2 separate regions of the Homo sapiens genome follow, and region 2 is linked to region 1. Evidence: promoter capture Hi-C in 16 types of primary human blood cells and fetal thymus (Javierre and others, 2016). All regions are on one chromosome and are shown on one strand. The core of a region is centred on a gene start or on the middle of the fragment in contact, and the rest is flanking DNA. Distances in the headings are between cores, read along the strand shown. Region 1 holds the start of FAM199X (family with sequence similarity 199, X-linked). Region 2 overlaps TMSB15B-AS1 (TMSB15B antisense RNA 1).

The links. Contacts are between HindIII fragments. The CHiCAGO score rates a contact against its expected background, and 5 or more counts as called.
Region 2: a fragment that was not itself captured here is called in contact with the fragment with the promoter of FAM199X in region 1 in 1 of 17 cell types (total B cells); the score reaches 7.0 in total B cells.

The regions. Positions count from the first base shown.
Region 1 is chrX:104,164,483-104,169,022 of GRCh38, forward strand. FAM199X (family with sequence similarity 199, X-linked) reads left to right here and starts at 1,971. Exons shown (of 6, transcript NM_207318.4): 1 at 1,971-2,500. The coding sequence starts at 2,304. RefSeq lists a silencer at 1,759-2,248 and an enhancer at 1,813-2,313. The HindIII fragment of the contact is 4,401 bases long and covers 1-2,964 here.
Region 2 is chrX:103,906,538-103,911,077 of GRCh38, forward strand. All of the region lies in intron 4 of TMSB15B-AS1 (TMSB15B antisense RNA 1), which reads right to left. It also overlaps the pseudogene ELF2P1. Among named protein-coding and RNA genes, the nearest start is that of TMSB15B-AS1, 11 kb to the right of the region's middle. The HindIII fragment of the contact is 174 bases long and covers 2,326-2,499 here.

The sequences.
Region 1 (4,540 bases), core at 721-3,220:
ACACAAAAGTAAAACACATACTTGTAGAAACCTCACAGACTCTCTCATTAGACTCCGCTTTAAAAAAACACCCACCTCTTATAGTATGTGTAAAAGGTATATATATTTAAATTAGACCACCAGGCACAGTAGCTCCACCTGTAATCCCAGCACTTTAGGAGACTGAGTTGGGTCAATCACTTGAGGTCAGGAGTTCGAAACCAGCCTGGCAAACATGGCAAAACCCGTCTCTACTAAAAATACAAAAAATAGCCAGGTGTCGTGGCACATGCCTGTAATCCCAGCTACTCAGGAGGCTGAGGCAGGAGAATAGCTTGAACCCGGGAGGTGGGGGTTGCAGTTAGCCAAGATCGCCCCAATACACTCTAGCCTGAGCGACAGAGCAAGACTCTGTCTCAAAAAAATATAAAATAAAATAAAATAAAATAGACTATTTCGTTAGCTTCTTATTAACAGTTCCTGGTGCTATTACCTGAGTGCCTGCATTATCATGCAGCACTTGACTCTTGTTTCATTTGGATAATCAAGTCTCTTGTTTTTGGGGACTAAGCCATGGCCCATTCAGCCTCACTGGCCTCAGACCCCTGGGGATTGGTGCATTAGGGACCATAGAACAAACCATCATCAGCCTCACTTCCACAAGTTTTAAATTGGTCAGCCTCATTAGATATTAATGAATGATTCATTTTGAAAGCCACATACACAATGCAACACACCTTCTTGCAATCTCAATGAAAGAAAGCCGGCATGCTCAACAGTCAAACAACCAAGTAACTGAAGCAAGATAATGTATACATTTTAAAGGCACGTTGGAGAAGCTGTTTTCACTATAAGTTGCATTGGTAGGGCAAGGCACAGAGTTTAATACTGAATGGGGCTTGTTTTAGTGACAACCCCCCACTTCTCCTGCCCTCTTTCTCTTCTTCCTCCTGCCTTCTTTCATTTTTCCCCTCCTTTCCGCCTATTTAAGTTCTATGCTTTCCTGAAGGATCAATGTAGTTTCTTCATAAATATAGTTAATGCAAAGAATTGCTTTTATTGAAGAATTATGCTCTTATATGAAAATGTGCTTCCTTTTATAAAATAATATTAGGTAGTTTTAAAAATTGTCTTCTTTGGGCAAAGTAAGAAATTAGTAATCTTGGGGTTTCCTCTATTTTTTTTTAATCTTACGCATCCAAGAACAGGAATCACTTGCCCAGAATATAGAGAAGAGAGATGAGATAAACAGCAAAGTACACTATATAACACCTAACAAGTTGATTCAAGTTGAACAAGTTAAGCTCCATAATATATTTTCTACGGGAGGGAGGGGGCAAATTAGCAGGTGTGCCTTAGTCTCCTTTGGGAGTCAGGGAAGGCTTCACTGAGGAGATAACGTTTGAGCTGGAGTTTGAAGGATTAGCAGGGGAGAAATGGCAGGGCATTCCAAGCAGGGTGCCTATGAGCAAAAGGCGCAAAGCACAAAAGAGTACGACGTGTCCAGCAGCTCTGAGTAGGCGAGTGGCTGCAGCGTAGGGTTCTTGGAGTTAGGTGATCAAGGGTGAGGAAGGGACTATTTTCCCTGCTTGGACGATTTCTCCTACACCTCATTGCACGGTGCTGGGCACACACTGCAGGAGCTCAATAAATACTTGTTGAATTGGGACAGAATGAAAGAGTGCGCTGGGAACCAGGGCATCTGGATGTTTTCTCACGCACCCGCAGTGTGACCTTGGCCAAGTCCCTTTTCTGGGACTGCGGTTCCTGCTTAGTAGTCGAGTACGAGTGAGAAAGCGGAGGAGGAGGTTGGCCAGAGGCGCCTAGCCTTTCTAGCGGCCTGAATCCCTGATTCGATGCGTAGAGGGCGGGGCGGGCCGCTTGGGGCCGCGGCGGGCGGAGGTTCAGTTCCTCCTCCGGTCCAGCAGGGGGCACGGGGAGTGGCTTCCCGCCGCCCTTCCCCTCCTTGCGGGCGCCGGGCAGACTGCTGCAGTCGCAAGCGGCGAGCGCAGTGGGCGGGGCGGGCCTGGCCGGGCCGGGCGGCGGCGCTGCGCTGACGGGCTGAGTCTGGCGGCGGCGGAAGCTGCAGAGGCCACCGGGGCGCTAACTGGGTGGCCGGTGGGCCGCTGTGGCCTCGAGCAGCCTCTTCGCGCGGCCCCGCACCCCGGCAAGCAGCAGCGGGCCGCGACGCCCAGCCTGCCAGTGAGCTGCGACGGGCACACCCCGGAGCGTCGGCGACTGCGGACAGGTTAGAGTGGGGGCAGGGGCGGGCGCGGGAGCAGCCCAGGGCCAGAGAGGGAGCCCGAGCCAGGCCATCTCCAACCATGTCCGACGAGGCCTCGGCCATCACTTCCTACGAGAAGTTTCTAACCCCCGAGGAGCCCTTCCCACTCCTGGGACCTCCTCGCGGGGTGGGCACCTGCCCGAGCGAGGAGCCGGGCTGCCTGGACATCAGCGACTTCGGCTGCCAGCTGTCCTCCTGCCATCGCACCGACCCGCTCCACCGCTTCCACACCAACAGGTACGAACTGCACCTGAGGGCAGGGGTGGATTTTCCACTTCTGGTCGCCCCCCGCTCCTGATCCTTCGTCCCGGGCTGCGCTTCCAGTCGCCCCCTCCCCCACCTGCTTTCGACCAGCGCTCATTCCCGGCCTCCTTCCCTGCCCCCCCTCCCTATTTTCACCCCTGCCCTCCTATTTTCCTTTCGACCGGCGTTTTACTCTCTTTTCCTCATTCATATTCTGGCTATAGCGACTCCTCCCTTCCCTACCTTCTCCCTCCCTTGCTTCCCTTCCCTCCCCCCATCTGTACCCTACGAATCCCAAACCCCCACCCTTGATTTTTAGATACGCCCCTGTTTGCATCCATCTGCAAAAGTTTAACCCCTTCCATTTCCGGTACGCTGTAGAGGAATTTGGATGGCTCAAGATCAATCCATAGATCTTTTGAAAAGTGGCGTTGAAAGGTGGAACATTTAAAGCTAGAAGCTTCATTTTCCCTATTTTTAATCTGTCTCACAGTCCTGTTCCCCCCGCCGCCACCACCCCTACCCCATTTTTTTTTTTAGTTGAGCGCTAGGAAACTAGTCGATTCTCTCTTTTTTTCCTCCTCCTTTATTAACTGTTTGCCTTAGCGCTTTAGGCTCTGCCAAAATTGGTAAGCTTAAATCTGGAGGATTCCTTCATATGACATATCCCTTGGTTTCCTTCCCCTTTGAAGAGACAGAGTAAGGCTTAGGATGGACTGACTTACACAAATTTATTCAGAGGGTGTATCTCCTCCTAACTGATTTCAGTAGAAGGTAGTGTTCTGGAGACTTCTCTCATGCAAGCATTTACGTGTTAGATCAAATCTTGGGGGGTGGGTTGAAGACGTTCTAGATACAGCCTCAAGTTTTAACATAGGTGGATATTTGAGATACATATACAAAGGGCTGGGGGGGTGTGTGGTTAAGGCTCTAGGAGAGGGGTTCAGCTATGGAAAATACTGGAGATAAATTAAGAAATCTAGTTCTGACTTCTGATCCAAGTTTATGATGTGAGTTTGATCAAATTCTTCCATATTTTAATGTCTTTAGCATATTTCTCCCCTCCCTTCCCTTAAATCAGTCTGTAGATTGAATGAGCTTCTACCAGATACAAGGAATGTGTAAAAGATGTTTCTTACATAAATGAAAGTTATAGTCTATGGAAACAAGGTGTTATAGTTAAATAATCAGAATATCAGTATAACACATCTCAAAAGGAAGTGGCAGTAAATTTATTATGACTACTCTAAATCGTCATTGCAAAAAATGAAGAAACAGGCCCAGAAAGAAAAGATTGAGTTCAAGGTCATAAAACCTAGTCAAGCAAATCCAAGACTATTCCTTTGAAGCCAATGATTAAACTTGGAGCAGAACTAATTGATCCAGTGTTACAAATAGAACTTATGGTTTCCTAGACCAACTCACAGAAGCCTATTTAACCCCTGATGTCACTGTAATGTGAATGTAACATATTCATGAAATCAAGTGTGCTTAGGGTTATTTATGTTGAAAAATAATGTAAAAGAATACCTTTGTACATATTTGGCATTTAAGTTTTGCAGCCTTGGAGCAAGTCACATACCCAGGAAAGTTAAATAATTTCAGAATGATCCTGCTGTGATGATGAGGGCAAGGGAGTGAGGGCAGAGGCTGTGGGTAAGTACTGCCAAAACTGGGTAGAGGTGATGGGGAGTGAAGTTATGAGAATAATATGTTTCTTACAACTTGTTCTGTTCCTTCCTCCTCCCCGTTTTTTCCTGTGTTTTCTTTCCCTTAAAGACTGTGGTGAGGTCAGGACTGTTTTTCAATGGGGCAGTGAGGAGGGGAGAAGGAGGTTCTTTGCAAGCCCCAGTTTTTCCAAGTCAAGCATTTTTCCTAGTTACTGCTTGCTTTTTTTTTTTTTTTTTTTAACTTCCCTCTCCTACCCTACTTTTCGCAAGGCTTGGCATGGTGGCAGGGGTTCTAATGCTCTGTATCCTTTTCAGCAGAGAGTAGGGGAAGCAAAATTAGCGATATTCACAGCACATGATGTTT
Region 2 (4,540 bases), core at 1,163-3,662, 260 kb before region 1:
GGAAATGGCCCTGGCTCCTGTGAGGGCTTCCGTGCTGCCTCATAATATAGCAGATAAGGTAAAACAGGAAGAGGACAGGTGTAAAGAGAACCCAAGAGATGTCCTGGCTTTGTAACACCCTCTCTAGAGGGGAGGAAACTAACGCATTCCCAAGAGAATGAATCCAGTTTCTCCAGAGTGAGAGCTAAGTCATTACTGGAAGAATGGCACCAAGCCAGTCATGAGAGATCTGCCCCTCATGATCTGCCCACATCAGCTGCATTGGGGATCACACTTCAACATGTTTTTGGGTGGGGACAAACAAATCATATCCAAACCGAGGCATCCTGGGTCACCTCTGTACACTTTTGGCCAGTGACTGTGGCTCAGAGACTGTAATTCCGTCATTGGCTGAGCCAGTGGAGACAGGAGTGTGAACAAAAGTTCTCTGAAAAGGAATTTGGAGGACAGAACACTTGTGCCAGTGAATACTTGGCAACCCTGGGAGAGGCTGTCTTGGGTGTGAAAACAATTGCATTGAAGGGAGTGGTAGGATTTAATAGTGAGTGGTAGGGTTTAAAGTTCATTCCCTCTGAACTCCCTAATAAAGCCCATTTATGCAAATGAAGGATTGAAATCACTGAGTTCTGATAGGCCTGCACAGCTGAGCTCTGATTGGTCAATGATGCTGATCCCTGATTTGTTGATAGAGCCTAGCTCTGATTGGCTGGTTCTGGTGTGCTCTGGAAGCCCCAAAGTTGAACAGAGGTGTGAGTTTTCTGGGAACTCAGAGTACATGTGTGACCTCTAGTCAGCAAATGGCCGCTTGGCTCCATTTGAATTTAGGTCCAGTTAGCCACTTGTGATCCATCTTAAAGGATTGGCTCTTTGACATTCAAATATGTTTCCAGGGGCGTGAGCTGCTGTCATTGGATTCTCCCATCATCTGAGTGATGCATAGTAGCTTTATTTAGTCTTATCTAGTTTCTTTAGTCACCAAAATAAGTTTTGTCAGTATGAGAACGGTTCTGCACATTCTCTGATTTTTTTGTTACTCCTGTTTGCTAATGTAGCCCATTACCATTCCTTCTTGCATCTCAGATTATCTTTTTGTGATCACTTTCCATCCGCCTAAAGTATGTTCTTCCTGCGTTCTTTGAAGGTGAAGTTCACTGGTGTAAATACTGCTACTTTACTAGTTAGAAATGTCTTTTCAGATTGGGATCCACAGGAAACAGACTCTGAGATGGATTTTAGTGTGCATGACATTTACTTAGAATTAACCCCTGAGGAATGGAAGGGAGGGAAGCAGGAGTGGGCACAGAGAGAAGTGCATCCATACTGCAGGCCCAACCAAAGCCTCTTCGGATCCCAAGGGGAGCTCTGAAGGTAAAAATGGCCCATCAGAATCATTCCACCTTGGGCAGAGCAAGCCAGATGTTTGTGCCTCCTCTTGGATCAGTCCTTGGATGTGGTCAGTCTCTGCAAGTGCGTGACCTTGGGCAAGGCAGCTCCTGCAGCTCGGGTCATACCTGAAGGAACTGATGGCTGATGACTGGCATCCAACTGCTGTCCCAGCAGCTGAAGCAGAAAATCTGTCCTTGAAGGGGGTTTGGGGCGATCTACCTGCATGTCTGTCACAGCTTACTTCTTAAATGATGTTTGGCTAGGAATGCAACTCTAGCATGACAGCTATTTTTTCCTTTTTGGCCTCCATTTGTTGATGTATAGATACCTGCTGTCTATTTTGTACTCGTTTATAGGCAATGTATCTATTTTATGCTATTATGATATTTGTTTATCATTATGCTGTAGCTTTACTATGATGTGTCCAGGTGTGCTTCCTAAGTTTAGTGAATCATTTATCTCCCTAATTTTGGATACTTACCAGCCATTCATTTATTTACAAGTTTCTTTTCTATATTTCAGGAATCCTACTTGGATACACTTTGAAACAAGAGCAAACCAAAACACAATATACTTCAAATAGTTTGTTGAATATACAAACTATGATAGTTCAAATCTGAAAACTGGTACTTTTCCTCTTAAACTTCAACTAAGTAAAAAAGAAAAGAAAGAAAACTCCAGGTATTAGAGCTACCTGACAAAAACTGATGCTGAACCTGATCTTCCAAGTGACAGTGGAACTGAAACTGATGTGTCTGCACAGATGCCAGGGCTACATGGGTGGCACAAGTATGTTATAGCAAAAGAACAGGAACCAACTGTTAATTTGTCCACAATTAGGGAGCTAGTTGACTTTACCATATAAAATGTTTCATATGAATTCTACAACAATACTGTGTTATGTACAAGATTTTAAAAATTTTTTTGTTTTAATGGAAAAGCTTTACACAAACAAGCCATTAGCTCATTTCAAGAAAAAAAAACCCTAAAAATTAGTTTAAGGCCTTTGTTTTAAATCAACTTAAGCCATATGATACATATTTTTTTTATTTGCAGTGGATCTTTTCTCCTTCTTTCTTTCTTTCTTTCTCTTTTGTGCTTTCCACTTTCTGAAGCTTTTGGATCCATTCTTCAATTCACATTCTAAAATACTTGTACTGGGTGAAAATGCATAGTACAAAAGTTGGTAATTTCCCCCATTATCTTTGTGGCCTATAAAACTAGAAATTGATGAAGAAAAAAAAAACCCTGCTGATCAAGTTTGAACCCTCCTACAGAAACGATCTGAACAACTGGGTGGCAGAAGAAATTCTAGCAATTAAGTATGTGGAACACCCTCAGTAGACAGCCTGGACCTGCATGGATGAGTGCATTACCCCAACCTCAGCTTTGAGATGATGGAGCTGGATTTTGGCTGCATCCTGAACAATACTGAGGTCATTCGCTAGGTTACCATCACCAACTGCAGCCCCTTGGTGGTGAAGTTCCGCTGGTTCTTCTTGGTGAATTATGAGGAAAATCAGATAATGTAGCACCGGCATAGAACTCCCACAGGACTCTGCTGTTCATTTATTTTCTCTTTCAGGCTTTTCACTAGGTTTTCTGTATTCTGTGTACTCATCATTCATGAATATTTTCATTTTTGACAACTAATTACTGAGAAAATTAATAGGGGGATTAAAATCATGACTCTTTCTAGATTTCCTAACAGGAAACCTAGATAAAGCATCTTTGAAAGTCCCAATCACCACCGAATTAAGAAAACAATATCCATAAGCCCATTTTAATTTTGAATCTAGTGATAAGATCATTAGAATTTCATCATTAAAAAATAAAGTCTTTGTAGAGTTTTTTAAAAAACACCTGTATTAGCAGAGCCTTCACATAGCACAAGTTAAGTGAGTAGTGTGAGAACACAGTAATACTTGCTAATATGCATATAAAATGCATTAAAAGTTGCTATGTGTAACAATGAGATCACCTATCCCAACCCCTCCCCACTGAAAACTGTATAACCTCTTGCAGAATGTCAGTGTTTCAAATCTTAGCATAACTTGAGATAGTAGTGTGCTGCCTGGTCCCTTTCAATCCTTTTTCTTATTGAAGGGTTCAGTTGTTTTCCTACTGTAAGAGGGAGGTTTCTGTCAGCATCTCAATGCATGTAGTTCATTTCTCATTGACACATGGGATAGATAACTTATTTCCGGTAAGTTTCATTGTTTTCTTATATGCATTAAAATGTTTTAAAGTCTTCTTTGACTTTTCTTGATGACTTCCCTTGCAAGTGTTTATGTCAGTACTACCACTCACAGTCTGAAATCTATGGTGGGCCTGTCATTTTATTTCTCACATGTCAATAGTATTTCTGTTCTTATAGTTAGTTACTCGAAAGGCAATAGCAGAAGTCTCACTGACAACCGCTACTTGGGTCACTGTCTTATTTCATCTGCTGGTTTCTCTTCTACCAGTTGCAGTCTCCACATCATCTTTCTACTGGTTTTCCATGGATTCTGATTCAACCTTTTATGACTGCACTGACAACTTCAAGAAGAGTCTGGCCAGATGCCTGTTGAGTAGGCAGTGATAGTCCCATTAAAGGTGTACCATGCACTATTGAAACAGTGGTAAGTGCTCTCACAGCCGGGGGTTTCCAACGATGTTAATGATTTAGTCAGACTTGACTTCGTCTGCTACTTACACTGTGCAGACTTGGATGTGTAGCAGGGATGGTAATGAGTTTGGCAGGCTGAATGGTGATTTTGTCTCCGTTTTCAGTAGAAGCTGGCATCCCAGTAGGGTTTGCCTGAATGAACCTTTGGTGAGGCTGCTGCTGTCGGACTAGTGGTAGTTATTAATGGTGCACCTACATTAACTGACTCAACCGCCATAGTTGAAATTTTCTGATGTCATGACAGCAGGTACTTGCATTGCCACACATACTGTCCTTGGAGCTGCTGCTGTTGCTGATACAGATTTGGTAGTAGTAGGAGACCTGGAGGAAACATGGTGACCAGGGGAAATGATATTCACAACTCCAGATACACCCTTCTCTGCTCTGGAGAAGTTTATAGGATATGAGTTATTTCCACCACGGACAGAAGTTGCTGCTTTTAGGACACTCTCTGCAGACGGTGACACTGGTTTTAATGACTTG